Linked DNA regions of Homo sapiens: region 1 is linked to region 2. Evidence: promoter capture Hi-C in human tissues and cell types (Jung and others, 2019). All regions are on one chromosome and are shown on one strand. The core of a region is centred on a gene start or on the middle of the fragment in contact, and the rest is flanking DNA. Distances in the headings are between cores, read along the strand shown. Region 1 has its middle 30 kb from the start of ABCA3. Region 2 holds the start of NTN3 (netrin 3).

What was found. The method cuts DNA at HindIII sites, captures the fragments that hold promoters and counts their contacts. A contact is called where the count stands out against the background at its distance.
Region 1: a fragment that was not itself captured here is called in contact with the fragment with the promoter of NTN3 in region 2 in 4 of the 25 tissues and cell types used here (IMR-90 fibroblasts, adrenal gland, bladder and 1 more).

What each region holds. Positions count from the first base shown.
Region 1 is chr16:2,367,693-2,373,886 of GRCh38, forward strand. It overlaps the pseudogene ABCA17P. Among named protein-coding and RNA genes, the nearest start is that of ABCA3, 30 kb to the left of the region's middle. The HindIII fragment of the contact is 6,058 bases long and covers 1-4,805 here.
Region 2 is chr16:2,466,486-2,472,853 of GRCh38, forward strand. NTN3 (netrin 3) reads left to right here and starts at 4,812. Exons shown (of 6, transcript NM_006181.3): 1 at 4,812-6,144; 2 at 6,216-6,368. The coding sequence starts at 5,217. It overlaps TEDC2-AS1 (TEDC2 antisense RNA 1), which reads right to left and starts at 1,728. Exons shown (of 1, transcript NR_135198.1): 1 at 1-1,728. RefSeq lists silencers at 1,177-1,226, 1,287-1,626, 1,637-1,686, 4,950-5,089 and enhancers at 2,134-2,677, 2,637-2,776, 2,937-3,016. The HindIII fragment of the contact is 12,116 bases long and covers 1-6,368 here.

The sequences.
Region 1 (6,194 bases), core at 527-3,026, 100 kb before region 2:
AGTGACATTTGTCATCATGGAGGAAACATGATCTGTGCTTTATGCATGTTTAAGATTTTCTCGGCTTCCCTTTTCCACCTGCAAATACCACTCCTATTTGGTTATTTTATTTTATTTTGAGATGGAGTTTCATTCTTGTTGTCCAGGCTGGAGTGCAATGGCACAATCTCGGCTCACTGCAATCTCTACCTCCCAGGTTCAAGCGATTCTCCTGTCTCAGCCTCCTGAGTAGCTGGGATTACAAGTGCCCACCATCACACCTGGCTAATTTTTTGTGTTTTTAGTAGAGATAGGGTTTCACCATGTTGGCCAGGCTGATCTCGAACTCCTGACCTCAGGTGATCCGCCCACCTCGGCCTCCCAAACTACTGGGATTACAGGCATGAGCCACCACTTTTGGCCCTATTCTATCTTTTTAAACACATGTCCTGTTCAACACGCATGTCATATTGTATGATCTATGTCTAACATGCCTCCATTACAATCTCCACTGACTGTATCCTTTGCATTTCATCCGTCTCATTTAATTTAATGAAGAAGAAACAGAAGATAATCATCCACACTCTTGGGACTCTCTGCATGTCTGTGCAGCTCCAAAGAGTCTGTTCCTGCTTTGGGGGAATCCCTGAACTCTTTCTGGCCTGTTCATTGGCTGATGCTTCACTTTGATTTTATTTACTCTGACTGATGCTTTTAGATCTTGCCTTGATTCTTATTCCATCCTCCCTGCCCCATCTGCAACACTGGTGCAGAATCCCAGTTCCTGTTCTTCAGGCCTCTTGGTCTTGGCTGGCCCTCTCCCTTTCCCTCTCATGAATCTCCCTATCTGCATTTCTAGTCTGGGAAAATCTCCTTTTCCCTGTCTGTCATTCAGGATAAGAGGACAGAAAATTAATGCCAGAAGGTTGGAGTTTTTCCAGGAGTTCCTATTTGTCCCAAGGGCTGGCATGTGGTCCCAAAGCCAGGTCCTGACTCCTGGCTGCCATAGTCCTCTCTTCTTGGGGAGCCATGCTGACTTTCTGCTCTGTCACCCTCTGTTGAGGGTGAAGGAGAGAGCCTTGCTGAGTGGCTGCTTTGCATCTGCTTGCTCTCTCCCATGCAAAGGGGTCTAACTGCACCTGACAGAGCAAACACCTAAAACTTGGCACCCAGTACTCCCTGGATCTGCCTGCGTTGCCCAACTCTCGCTTCTGGCAACCCCAGGTTCCTAGAGAAGTACTGGGGCAACACTGACACCTGTGCATCCTCTGTCCTTCACAATAAGCATCACATTCCCGACTGAAGGCCCATGGGCCAATCCGCTCTTGAAAGACTCATGCTCTCCCATTCACTTTAGATTTTTTGGTCTTCCTTTTTGTGAGGGGTTTAGGGTGAACATCCTCTAGGCAACTAACTTTTCTTAGAAAATTAAGCTGGTAATCTACATCTGTTGTAGAATGGCTCAAATATTGGCTTGAAGCCTCAGGCCTTTGTGCACACTAAGTGAGAGTCCAAGTCCGAGTACTTACAGTTTTGCATAATTCTAGAAAAGATCCAGCAGTTCTGCAGTGAAAATACTCCTACACACAATCAAGAATATGTAACCATTCTGAGAATTTATTACCAACAATTTGTTCCTTCTTTTTCCTGGACAGATCTGAGAGTCTGCCTAGGTCTAGGCCATCTGAAGACCATAGCCACCTCTACTCCTGGGAGGGGGTTGAGGTACCCCACCTTGGCTTTGCTCATGTTGGAGCCTGGTAACCATTGCTTGGAGGTGGGGCTGTTATCTCTTAGAGGACCCCAGAACCAGGAATCTTTGCCTTTCAGCCTATTTTTCCTGAAAGCTGACCCCATCATGCCAACTATGCTGTATTGAAATGAGTGTTGCTTGTGATAAGGACTGTTTTTGAGACTTAGTAGTAAAATTCACTGACCATAAACCCAACAGCGGTAACAATTCAGAAGTAGGTCACAACAGGTTAGGGAGGCTGTGTCTTTCAAGTGCTTTGAGTTTAACCATCTCATATGAGTGCTTTGAGTTTAACCATCTCATACGTGCTGTGTGATCAAAACTGCAGAAGAGGTGCTCTTTCCCTGAAGTCTGAATACTAAGGGGAGGAGATGTGGTCCCACCTCAAAAGATTCTTGTATTGGACATCTTTTATTTTGCCTGCCCAGGCTCCTTTACCCCATTTTTGGATCATATATGCATTACCCTCAGCTCCAGGGGTCTCCCTTGTGACTTTCCTCTCTTTCTTCCACACTGTAGTGAGGACTCTAGGGATGCCTTTCCTACCGCTGTCTGTCTCTATGAATGCCTAGCCATGATCCGTCTGAAACACCAGTTGTTGTATCTTTATACTTTCTTTCTTTTTTCTTTTTCTTTCTTTCTTTCTTTCTTTTTTTTTTTTTTTTTTGAGATGGAATCTCCCTCTGTTGCCCAGGCTGGAATGCAGTGGCGCAATCTCAGCTCACTGCAACCTCTGCCTCCCACCAGGTTCAAGCAATTCTGCCTCAGCCTCCCGAGTAGCTGGGACTTTAGGCATGCACCACCACACCCAGCTAATTTTTGTATTCTTAGTAGAGATGGGGTTTCACCATATTGGCCAGGCTGGTCTCGAACTCCTGACCTTAATTTCTTGATATTCACTATTTTCTCATAGGATACAACAAAGAAGGCTTCCTGGCCATACAGTATGCTGTGGATAAAGCCATCATGTGGTACCATGCTCACAATGCAATGACCAACATGTTTGAGAATCTCAATGTACTTGTGAAGAGATTCCCATATGGACCCTATATCGAGGACAGGTTCTTCCTAGTCCTTCAGAATGAGTTTTCTGTGTTCTTCATACTCAGCTTCATGTACATTGAGCTCATCATCATCAGTTCCATTGTACTGGAGAAAGAGAAAAGACTGAAGGTAACCCCAGATACTTCAAGTGTATGCCTCTCCTGGGACAGGGGTATGGGGAAGCTGCTAATGAAAAATGACCAGAATAGGAATGAAGCCAAAAGGAGGTTGCTTAGGTGTCCAAGCAACTTCCAAGGTGAGTTGGAACTTGGAAGGTTGTTCACAATTTTAACTTGCTTGCAATCTAGGTGATCCCACCTCTGTTATTACATGAATCCTTGCCTTTAGTCTGAGAATGTCCAGCCTGGTCATTCCTGGTTGGTCAGCACACTGCCTCCCACTAGGTAGGTGTTTGAAAAATGCTTGTGGAATGACTCATGATAAGAGATCTACCCTTCACTATTCACCACCTTGCTTGATGCCCTGAAGGCTGACCTGTAGGGATCCCAGCACATGCTCCCACAAGGAATCTGGCAGGACCTCAGAGGGAAGAAGTAGGAGGATGAGGTCCCTGTGTTGACCTCAGGCCAGCAGGGAGAGATCCCTACAGGTCATTTTGGGCTCAGCTTGTTCCTTAACTGAAGGTCACTGTTCTCGCAAGATGTCTTGCCCTACAAGACTCTCCCATTCTGGATTCTGGTAGCCTCTCTTTCTTCTCATCCATTTGGATCCAAGGAAGGTATTCATGCTTTTGCTGCTAGCCCTAGGTTTCTGCACTATCCTGTAGGGTTTTCTGTCTCTGTGCACACATGTGCCTGTTATAAACAAACCCTCTTTGAATTACTGTAATTTGAATATAACAGTTGTTTCCTTTAGGGATCCTGAATGATACACAATTATATGAGAGAACTACTGCTATTATTCTTATTTAGTAGAGGAAGTAACTTGAGACATAGAGAGGTTAAAAATTTCCAGATAATTTTATATGGAACAGTACAACCTAGCCATAAATACAGTTTTCATTCCCAGATAAAGAGTAAAAGTAAAACAGTTTTCCAGTAATTAAGCTTTAGCTTCTCTGAGTGGAATCTTAGATGAAATATGCCAGAGAGGAATGTGTTCCATTTCCGCTTGGTGCAGAGTCAGGAAAAGATAGTCTCTTGGGGAGTTCTAGAATAGCATTTAGCCCTGGACGCTGATAGGATCAATGTTGTCAGCTCTTCCATTCTATTCAGGTGATGCCCTAAGACCCAACCCAAACTTTCAACTCTTCCTTGGCAAGGACCCAGGAGTAGGCAAGTTGTATTCCAGGAGGAGTCATTACTATGGGAAATATTCCAGGAGGGAGAATGCCCTGACGGTGTTTGGCCCTAGGACCAAGGTGGGATATGGGGAATGGGGCACTAATGTCATTTCCTTCTTTGAACACTGAATACAACTAATAGAACTCTTTCTTCCTAAACTCCCTCATGTTTATTTAGTATGACTATGTAGATGGATTAAGGAGAATTAAAACACACTGTCCTTAATTTAGGAATGACCCGTATCACTCCATCCCTCCTATTCCCCTCACCCTTTCAAGCATAGTCCCTTTGCTCTGGTTGACCGTGTTCCTTTTCTGTTCCCCAAATAGGTATTAGGTATTCTGCTCCTCCTATAGGCAGGCCTCATTGTTTGGCTGCTCTTCTTCAAAATTTATATTGCAGTTCATTTCTTTCAAGAAGTCTTTCTAAATTTCATCAGTCTTTCATCCCATCTTCCTATAGTTTGTTGTTTCCACCTCTTAACTGATCTCCATGTAATTAATTGTCCAAATTAACTGACATTCTATCCCCTCTGTAAAACTCTCAGATTGAAGCTCCCAACACACTGCAGCTGGTAGGCTTCTCTCTAGCGAATCTGGGTTTATCTTTTACCTGCTGAGTTGTATGCTTTTTAAAGTTTGTTCCTAAATCTCTTTATACCTGTACTTGTTCTTATAATTTGTAATTTAATTAAATATTATGTAAATAGATGGAGTGGACTGGAGTTACCTTTGAAAATTTAGTTGAATGCTTTGGAAAGATTCAGTAAGGCAAATCTCTAAAAAAAAAAATGCTAATAAAGTTCGCGTGAGGCCAGGCGCAATGACTCATATCTGTAGTCCTAGCTACTTGAGAGGCTGAGGTGGGAGGATTGCTTGAACCCAGGAGTTCAAGGCTACAGTGAGCTATGATCGTACCATTACACGCCAGCATGGACAACAGAGTGAGACCCTGTCTCTAAAAAACGAAAATGATAAAATAAAAAATAAATTTCACGTGGGTGAAACTTCTGTAAAATATGAGAAAAAAATACAGAAACCTGGTCAGAGTCTGTACTACAATGCTTCATGCCTGTATTCATGTCCTCAGTCCACTTTCAAGGCTGTGATCTTTGCTTTATGGGTGGGGCTCACATTGCTCCAATGAGCAGGCCCACACTTCAAGAGAAGAGTTTGTGTTCTGACATAAGAATACCAACACAAATTGTACATTTATATGCTATAAGTAAAAATAAAAATGTAAGGTATGTGTATAGCATTTTTGTGGTTCCCTGCTTACCCAACTTGTTTTTGATTAACCAACTAACTACTAGTTCCATTATTAAAAGGTAAAAAGGCTTCTTCTGTAACTATAGTGTGGCATATACAGTATTATTATCATATATGTGTCTTCAGTACTAGATTGCGAATTTTTAGAAGACAGTACCTTTGCCTTTTATATCTTTTAATTTTTCCTGCATGGTGCCTAGCACAGTGCTTTGCATTTATTCACTTATCAAGTATTGATTGAACGACTTATATTTATGAGGCACATGCATTAGAGATAAACATATAAATGACACAGCCCTTTCTCTCAGGCAATTTACAGCAATAAAACCAAGTGTTACAAAAGAAACCCAAGTGCAAAGGTAATGGAGTGTGTAGATGTCACGTCTCTGTGGAGAATGGGCAACGCTGACCAGAGAAAGCTTCACAGAGCAGGTAGCTCTTGAACTAGGCTTTGAAAATCAACTAGGATTTTGCTAGTTGAAGAGAATATGAGAGAAAAAAGAAAATGACATATGTAAGAAAAAAATGTTTTTAAAGACATCGAGGTCATAGTGCATTCAGTGAATTGCAAAATGTTTTGTGTAACCAGGGCATAGGATGCCAAGGAGTTTAGATTTTCTTTTCAGAACTATAGGACTATAGGAGCCATTCACTTATAGTAGACTTACTATTGTAAAAGAAGAATCATGTAGTAGGTCTATCTCTACTATATCTAAACCAGGTAAATGCCATTCACTGGTTTGTACTTTTCTTTCAAACTCAGTCTCCACCACTCCTATTAGCCACCTCTTCCCAGTATACACACACAACCCTTCATCCCAGTCTGTTGGAGTTTCAGTAACAGAC
Region 2 (6,368 bases), core at 3,562-6,061:
ATCCTGGCTAACACGGTGAAACCCCGTCTCTACTAAAAATACAAAAAATTAGCCAGGCTTGGTAGTGCGCATCTGTCATCCCAGTTACTTGGGAGGCTGAGGCAGGAGAATCGCTTGAGCCCAGGAGGTGGAGGTTGCAGTGAGCCGAGATCACACCACTGCACTCCAGCCTGGGTGACAGAGCAAGACTCCGTCTCAAAAAAAAAACCCTGCTGGCCACAGAGGCCGTGGTGTTGGCCATGGCCAGTGCTCGTAGTGTTCTTTAAACGAACCTGCACTGAGGGCCCGAGGCATCCCAGACATTTTGGGAGCTGGGGCCAGGTGCTCTGTGTGGACAGTGCCGGAGCTCCACCAAGCGCTGCTCTGGGCAGGGACCTGCGACAGGGAAGATGACCGGCCTCTTCACCAAGGTGCCCCCCCTGGACAGGGCAGCAGGACAGGAGGTGGATGACACCTGGAGAAAGCCGGGTCTTCTGAGAACCAGATGGAGCGTCGCAGGTAGGTCGTGCTTGTAAAGGGCCTTATAGTCCAGCGGGCCAGAAACACGCTCGGACCCAGAGTCCCAAGTTGAGGGCTGCTGGGGACCAGATGACAGAGACCAAGACAGGAAACCAAAAACCATGGTCCTCGTTGCATTGAGGGGGCGCCTCCAGGGACAGGGCAGCTCCACCCCCTGCCACCGCAGCCTGGCAGCAGCCCCAGGGTCGCACCCCTTGTGCAGATCAGCCAGCCTCGCCCCTCCCGGCAACCCCATTGCTGCCTCCAGGCTTATGCCCAGGTGCCTCTATCTGCAGGAGCCACTGACTCATTTGAAACCCCCAACCACGCTGCGACCGTACACCCCCGTGGCTTTCCAGAGCAGGTGGTCTCTACCTGACGTTATTTCACTGGCTGACTTGGCTCATGGCTCATCCCCCATGCCTACTGGATGTCTGCCTCAGGAGGACAGGGGTGCTATCCCCCCTACCCCGGCCAGGCCCTGATGGGAGCCAGATGTGCACTGACTCAATGATCCACCAATCCCGGGGGCCAACCCAGAGGACAGTGGTGTCCTGGAGCAGGGAGGCGGCCTAGATAGCTTTGTGGGGGTCCTGAGGAGGCCCCAACACAGGAGTCCAGGGCGGGAAAGACAAGCCGCCTCCTCGGACTAACGCCCGCCCACCCCGATTCCCCGCCAAAACCCAGAGGTAGCAGCTGACTCCTCGGGCTCCCGGCTGGCGTCACCGCCTCTGGAGCCAATGGGCTCTGACGTGGCGAGCCTGGAACGCCACTGGGACTGCGCGGGCGTCCACACCACCCACCGAGCGCGGCCACCGCGTTGGCGGCATGAGCGCGCTCGAGCCTCCCCCAGCGGCGCCCGCCTCGCCCCCCGGGCCGGGTCTGGCGCACCCGGAACCCCCCGGGGCCCTGCGCGCCCTGCTCTTGGCCACCGGCGGCGCTGGGGGCTCGTGGCCTCGCTGCATTCTGCCGTTCGGTGCCGTGGCCGTGCTGGCTGGTGCGGCTGCCACGGCCATCACCTTCTCGCTGCGGGGACCCCGCCTGGACCTGGCCCAGGGCTCGTCGCTGGCCGCGCTCAGTGCGGGCCTGGGGCTTCTGACCGCCGCCTTCCTGTGCTGGCGCGCTCGGCGGAGGCGAAGGGCCGGGCGCAGGGAGCCGGGGGCGCCCTGAGCCGCGGGCGAGGCCCCCTCCCATCGAGGTCACCGCGAGCCGGCCGCCCCTCCCTCCAACCTCGCCCCGGCCGGGCGGGCGCAGTGCCAAGCGTGGTCGCAGAGGCCGCCCCCCACACCCCATCCCCAAATCGTTTCTTCTGGAACCCTTTGGGCAGAGAAGGCCACCGGCCGTTTCCCTCCCTCCCTCTCTGCTTTCCCTCTCTTCCCTCCTCCGTCCAACGTCGCATTTCAGCTTTTGACTTGGCGCGCAGAGCTGGCGCGACCGCAGAGCGGCCTGGCTGGGCAGCGGTCTGCGAGGCTGGGGGATCGACCCGGCGCGAGGGTGCTGGGTGCAGGGCAGCGCGACGCGGGCTCGGCCACACCACCCGCCGTTGGGAGCCGGCGCTGTGTCTGCTCCTGGGCTGTCTGCCTTCGGAGCTCGGTTGGAAACCCCCCGAGGCATAATAGGCGCTCGATAAATGTGCAATAGGTGAACATGTGGTGGCTTGCAGGCGTCTGGGGGGAGACAGCAGGTTCTGGGCTGGGCAGGGAATTATTGGATCAACGGGCATCTTACAGGAAAGACTCTCAGCTCCCTGCCGCCTAGGACTGTCCAGCCCATCTATGCCCTCTCCCCAGCCTGTGCCCCAAAGCTGGAGCTGCCACTCTAGGGGTGAGGGGTGGGGTGGGGAGGGGGAGGCGAAGCACTGCGGCCTGAGTTGCAGGTGGGGGGAGGGGAGGCGGAGCTTCTTTGTTGCAGAAGGTGCCAGGAGGGGGCAGGGCCAGTGGAGAGGTGGGAGGTGGGAGAGGCCCCAGCCAGGGGCTGGGACAGGTGGCTGGGTCCCTGGGGAGCAATAAGTCCCGCTTGGGCGCTGTGGGGAGGCCCTTCCTAACTCCCAAACACCATCTGTGAGGGCTGGGGGTGGGGGCAGAGTAGCGTGTGCAGAGGACTGTTCCTGGGGAGAGGCCCTGTGACCAGCGGCCTCCTCCCTGGGGAGCTGGCGGTACAATGGCCCTCTGGGCCCACGGCCTCCCGCCGCTGCTGCTGACCCAGATGAACAATTGGGGCAGGGCTGAGCCCCAGGCACCTACTTTCCCCCACCCCAGAAGCCACCAGACGTTCTGCAGACCCCAGTCCTGGCTCACAGGGAAGCTGAGCTGGAGACAAAGCCAGCCCCTCTGATGAGGGTGGAAGAGGCTGCTGGCCACTGTCCCTCTTGCAGCCTGGCTGGCAGCCAGTCTGGCAGTGGCCCTGACGTCCAGAGACAGCTTGGGTTTCCCCAGAGGCTTGTCTCTGGCCAGTGGGACCCCTCTGTCAGGCCTGGGCTTTTCTCTCCACTGTCCCAGAATGATGATCTCAGCCCCCATAGTCCCCCCAGGGTTCCTCCCACCCTTAGGGTGGGGTGTCGGGGGGTGGGGGTTGGGAGCCAGAAGGACCTTGAAGAGGGTGGTTGGGACGTTTCAGGTTCTAAGCTTGACCCACAGAGCGGAGCGTGAGCCCCGTCAGGTTGAGGTCCCTCAACTTGTAAAGGACACAATTCCCATTCTCTTTATCAGGAAGCTGAGGGGCAGGGGCCCTGTGGCAGAGAGAGAGCCCCTTAGCCCTCTCTGTTCAGTCCTCCGGTGCCCCCATCCCTGTGCATCTGTGGCTGTCACATGCAGATGTGTGGCAAGGAGAAGGTGCCCACCAGCCAGTGTCAGTTGCTCCAGGAGCCAAGCCAGGTGCCCTATCACCCTGTCTTCCCGTTCCTCCCCTCCATGGTCAGGCCCTCCTGCTCCCTCCTCTGGTCCTTCAGTTTCCCCTAGGAGGCTTCCGTGTCCTCCTGCCCCTCCTCTCCCCAACAGCGGGATGCGTCTACCTCTCCATTCTCTTCCTCCTGGTCCTTGCTCATCTCTGGTCGTGTCCAGGGTAGCACCCACGTGGCCTCCTCCACCAGCTGCAGGCCTGGCCTCCCATCTGAAACGGGGCATTCAGGCCTCGATGCTGGCCCTGCACGGAACTTGTTCCCTGCCCCTCCCTGGGATGCTTGGCCTCCTCTGTCAAGGACCTGAAAGTCGGAGGGGAGGAGGTTTCTCTGACCAGAGCTGTTCCTGGACCCTCTTTGGTGGTGTCGCTCCCAGGCACAGCTACCCCATCCCCAGCTAGTCCCCAGGCCACCCAGCTGGGCTTCTGCCTCAGTTTCCCTGCCCAAACGTGCTGTGACGTAGGGCAGTGGGCTCCGGGTTGCGACCAGCCCCTTCCCATGATTAAACCCTACTCCCTGCCCCTGCAGAGGGGTCCTCAACAGCTAACCAAGCCCCCGAACCCCAAGAAGCCACCCCATCCCACCCTCCAGCTTCCATGTCCTCCCTGCCAGCTGGGCCCGTGGCAGAGGTGCCCCTAGAAACTTGCAGACCCAGGGAGCTTTGGGATCAGAATCTGGCCTGGTGCAGGGGATGCTGGCCTCATGTCTTAGCCCAGCTCAGGCCCATGGGGGTGCCCCCCTTCCTCAACATGGGCAGGAGACACTCCAATTTGTGCAGCTCTCGACTTGGGCCTGATGCCACTTGAGACTCATCAAATCCAACAGCTTCAGAGCGCGTGCTGAGTAACAGGCATCTGGCAGGTGAGGAAACAGGAGCCCAAGACATGCAGCCAGAAATGGGGCAGTTGGATTCAAAATTAGACCTGACCGAATCCTGGGTTCCTTCTACTCGAGTAGATGCTGCTTTGGGGATGACCCTTCAACTGGTGGTTACTTGGCTTCCCTACCTGGGGAACATCCAGGGCCTCTGCTGTCAGACCCGGGGCCTTGCCTGCCTGATGGTCTTCAGGGAGGAGGCGACCCAGACCCCCGTCCAGCACGTGGCACAGCCCCAGGAGCAGTAAAGACCTGGCTGTGGGCCCAGGACCCTGCTGGGTGGTCCCCCACGGGCTGCGAAGGCTGAGCTGCCCCCCTCCAGACCCCTCCCGCCAGCGCATTCCTGGCTCCCCGGCCCCTCCCCTGGCTCCCGGGCCTCCCAGCCCCCTTCCCCGCTGGCCCAGCCCGCGTCTGAATCTGCTTCTGATTCCAGCTCTGCGATGAGGCCCCCTCCCCTCCCCTGCCTCCTTCCCGACCCGAGCAGCCCCGCCCCCGGCTGGGCCCGGGCTTGCGCCTGCTGCGCCCCCCACCCCCTCCTGGCACAGCTCGTCCGCCCTCGCTGCAGCCGGGAGGAGGCGGCGGCCCGTGCACCGCAGGCCCCGCCCGCCCACGGCCCTTCCCGGGAGGCCGGGAGACCTGCTCCGCCCGGCCCTCGGTGGGTGAGTGCGAGCGGCGGGTGGGGCCTCCGCGGGCGGAGGCACCGGGAGCGGGGGCGACGCCTGTCATCGCTCTAGGCCCAGCGGGAGGACGCGCCAACATCCCCGCTGCTGTGCTGGGCCCGGGGCGTGCCCGCCGCTGCTCCCACCTCTGGGCCGGGCTGGGGCCGCCCGGGGGCCCTGTTCCTCGGCATTGCGGGCCTGGTGGGCAGAGCCGCGGAGAGGGCTTCTTTTCCCCAAGGGCAGCGTCTTGGGGCCCGGCCACTGGCTGACCCGCAGCGGCTCCGGCCATGCCTGGCTGGCCCTGGGGGCTGCTGCTGACGGCAGGCACGCTCTTCGCCGCCCTGAGTCCTGGGCCGCCGGCGCCCGCCGACCCCTGCCACGATGAGGGGGGTGCGCCCCGCGGCTGCGTGCCAGGACTGGTGAACGCCGCCCTGGGCCGCGAGGTGCTGGCTTCCAGCACGTGCGGGCGGCCGGCCACTCGGGCCTGCGACGCCTCCGACCCGCGACGGGCACACTCCCCCGCCCTCCTTACTTCCCCAGGGGGCACGGCCAGCCCTCTGTGCTGGCGCTCGGAGTCCCTGCCTCGGGCGCCCCTCAACGTGACTCTCACGGTGCCCCTGGGCAAGGCTTTTGAGCTGGTCTTCGTGAGCCTGCGCTTCTGCTCAGCTCCCCCAGCCTCCGTGGCCCTGCTCAAGTCTCAGGACCATGGCCGCAGCTGGGCCCCGCTGGGCTTCTTCTCCTCCCACTGTGACCTGGACTATGGCCGTCTGCCTGCCCCTGCCAATGGCCCAGCTGGCCCAGGGCCTGAGGCCCTGTGCTTCCCCGCACCCCTGGCCCAGCCTGATGGCAGCGGCCTTCTGGCCTTCAGCATGCAGGACAGCAGCCCCCCAGGCCTGGACCTGGACAGCAGCCCAGTGCTCCAAGACTGGGTGACCGCCACCGACGTCCGTGTAGTGCTCACAAGGCCTAGCACGGCAGGTGACCCCAGGGACATGGAGGCCGTCGTCCCTTACTCCTACGCAGCCACCGACCTCCAGGTGGGCGGGCGCTGCAAGTGCAATGGACATGCCTCACGGTGCCTGCTGGACACACAGGGCCACCTGATCTGCGACTGTCGGCATGGCACCGAGGGCCCTGACTGCGGCCGCTGCAAGCCCTTCTACTGCGACAGGCCATGGCAGCGGGCCACTGCCCGGGAATCCCACGCCTGCCTCGGTGAGGCCTTGGAGGGTGGCCTGGGGACCTTGGACACAACCAGCCTGCCCCTGACCCATCCCTCCCTGCAGCTTGCTCCTGCAACGGCCATGCCCGCCGCTGCCGCTTCAACATGGAGCTGTACCGACTGTCCGGCCGCCGCAGCGGGGGTGTCTGTCTCAACTGCCGGCACAACACCGCCGGCCGCCACTGCCACTACTGCCGGGAGGGCTTCTATCGAGACC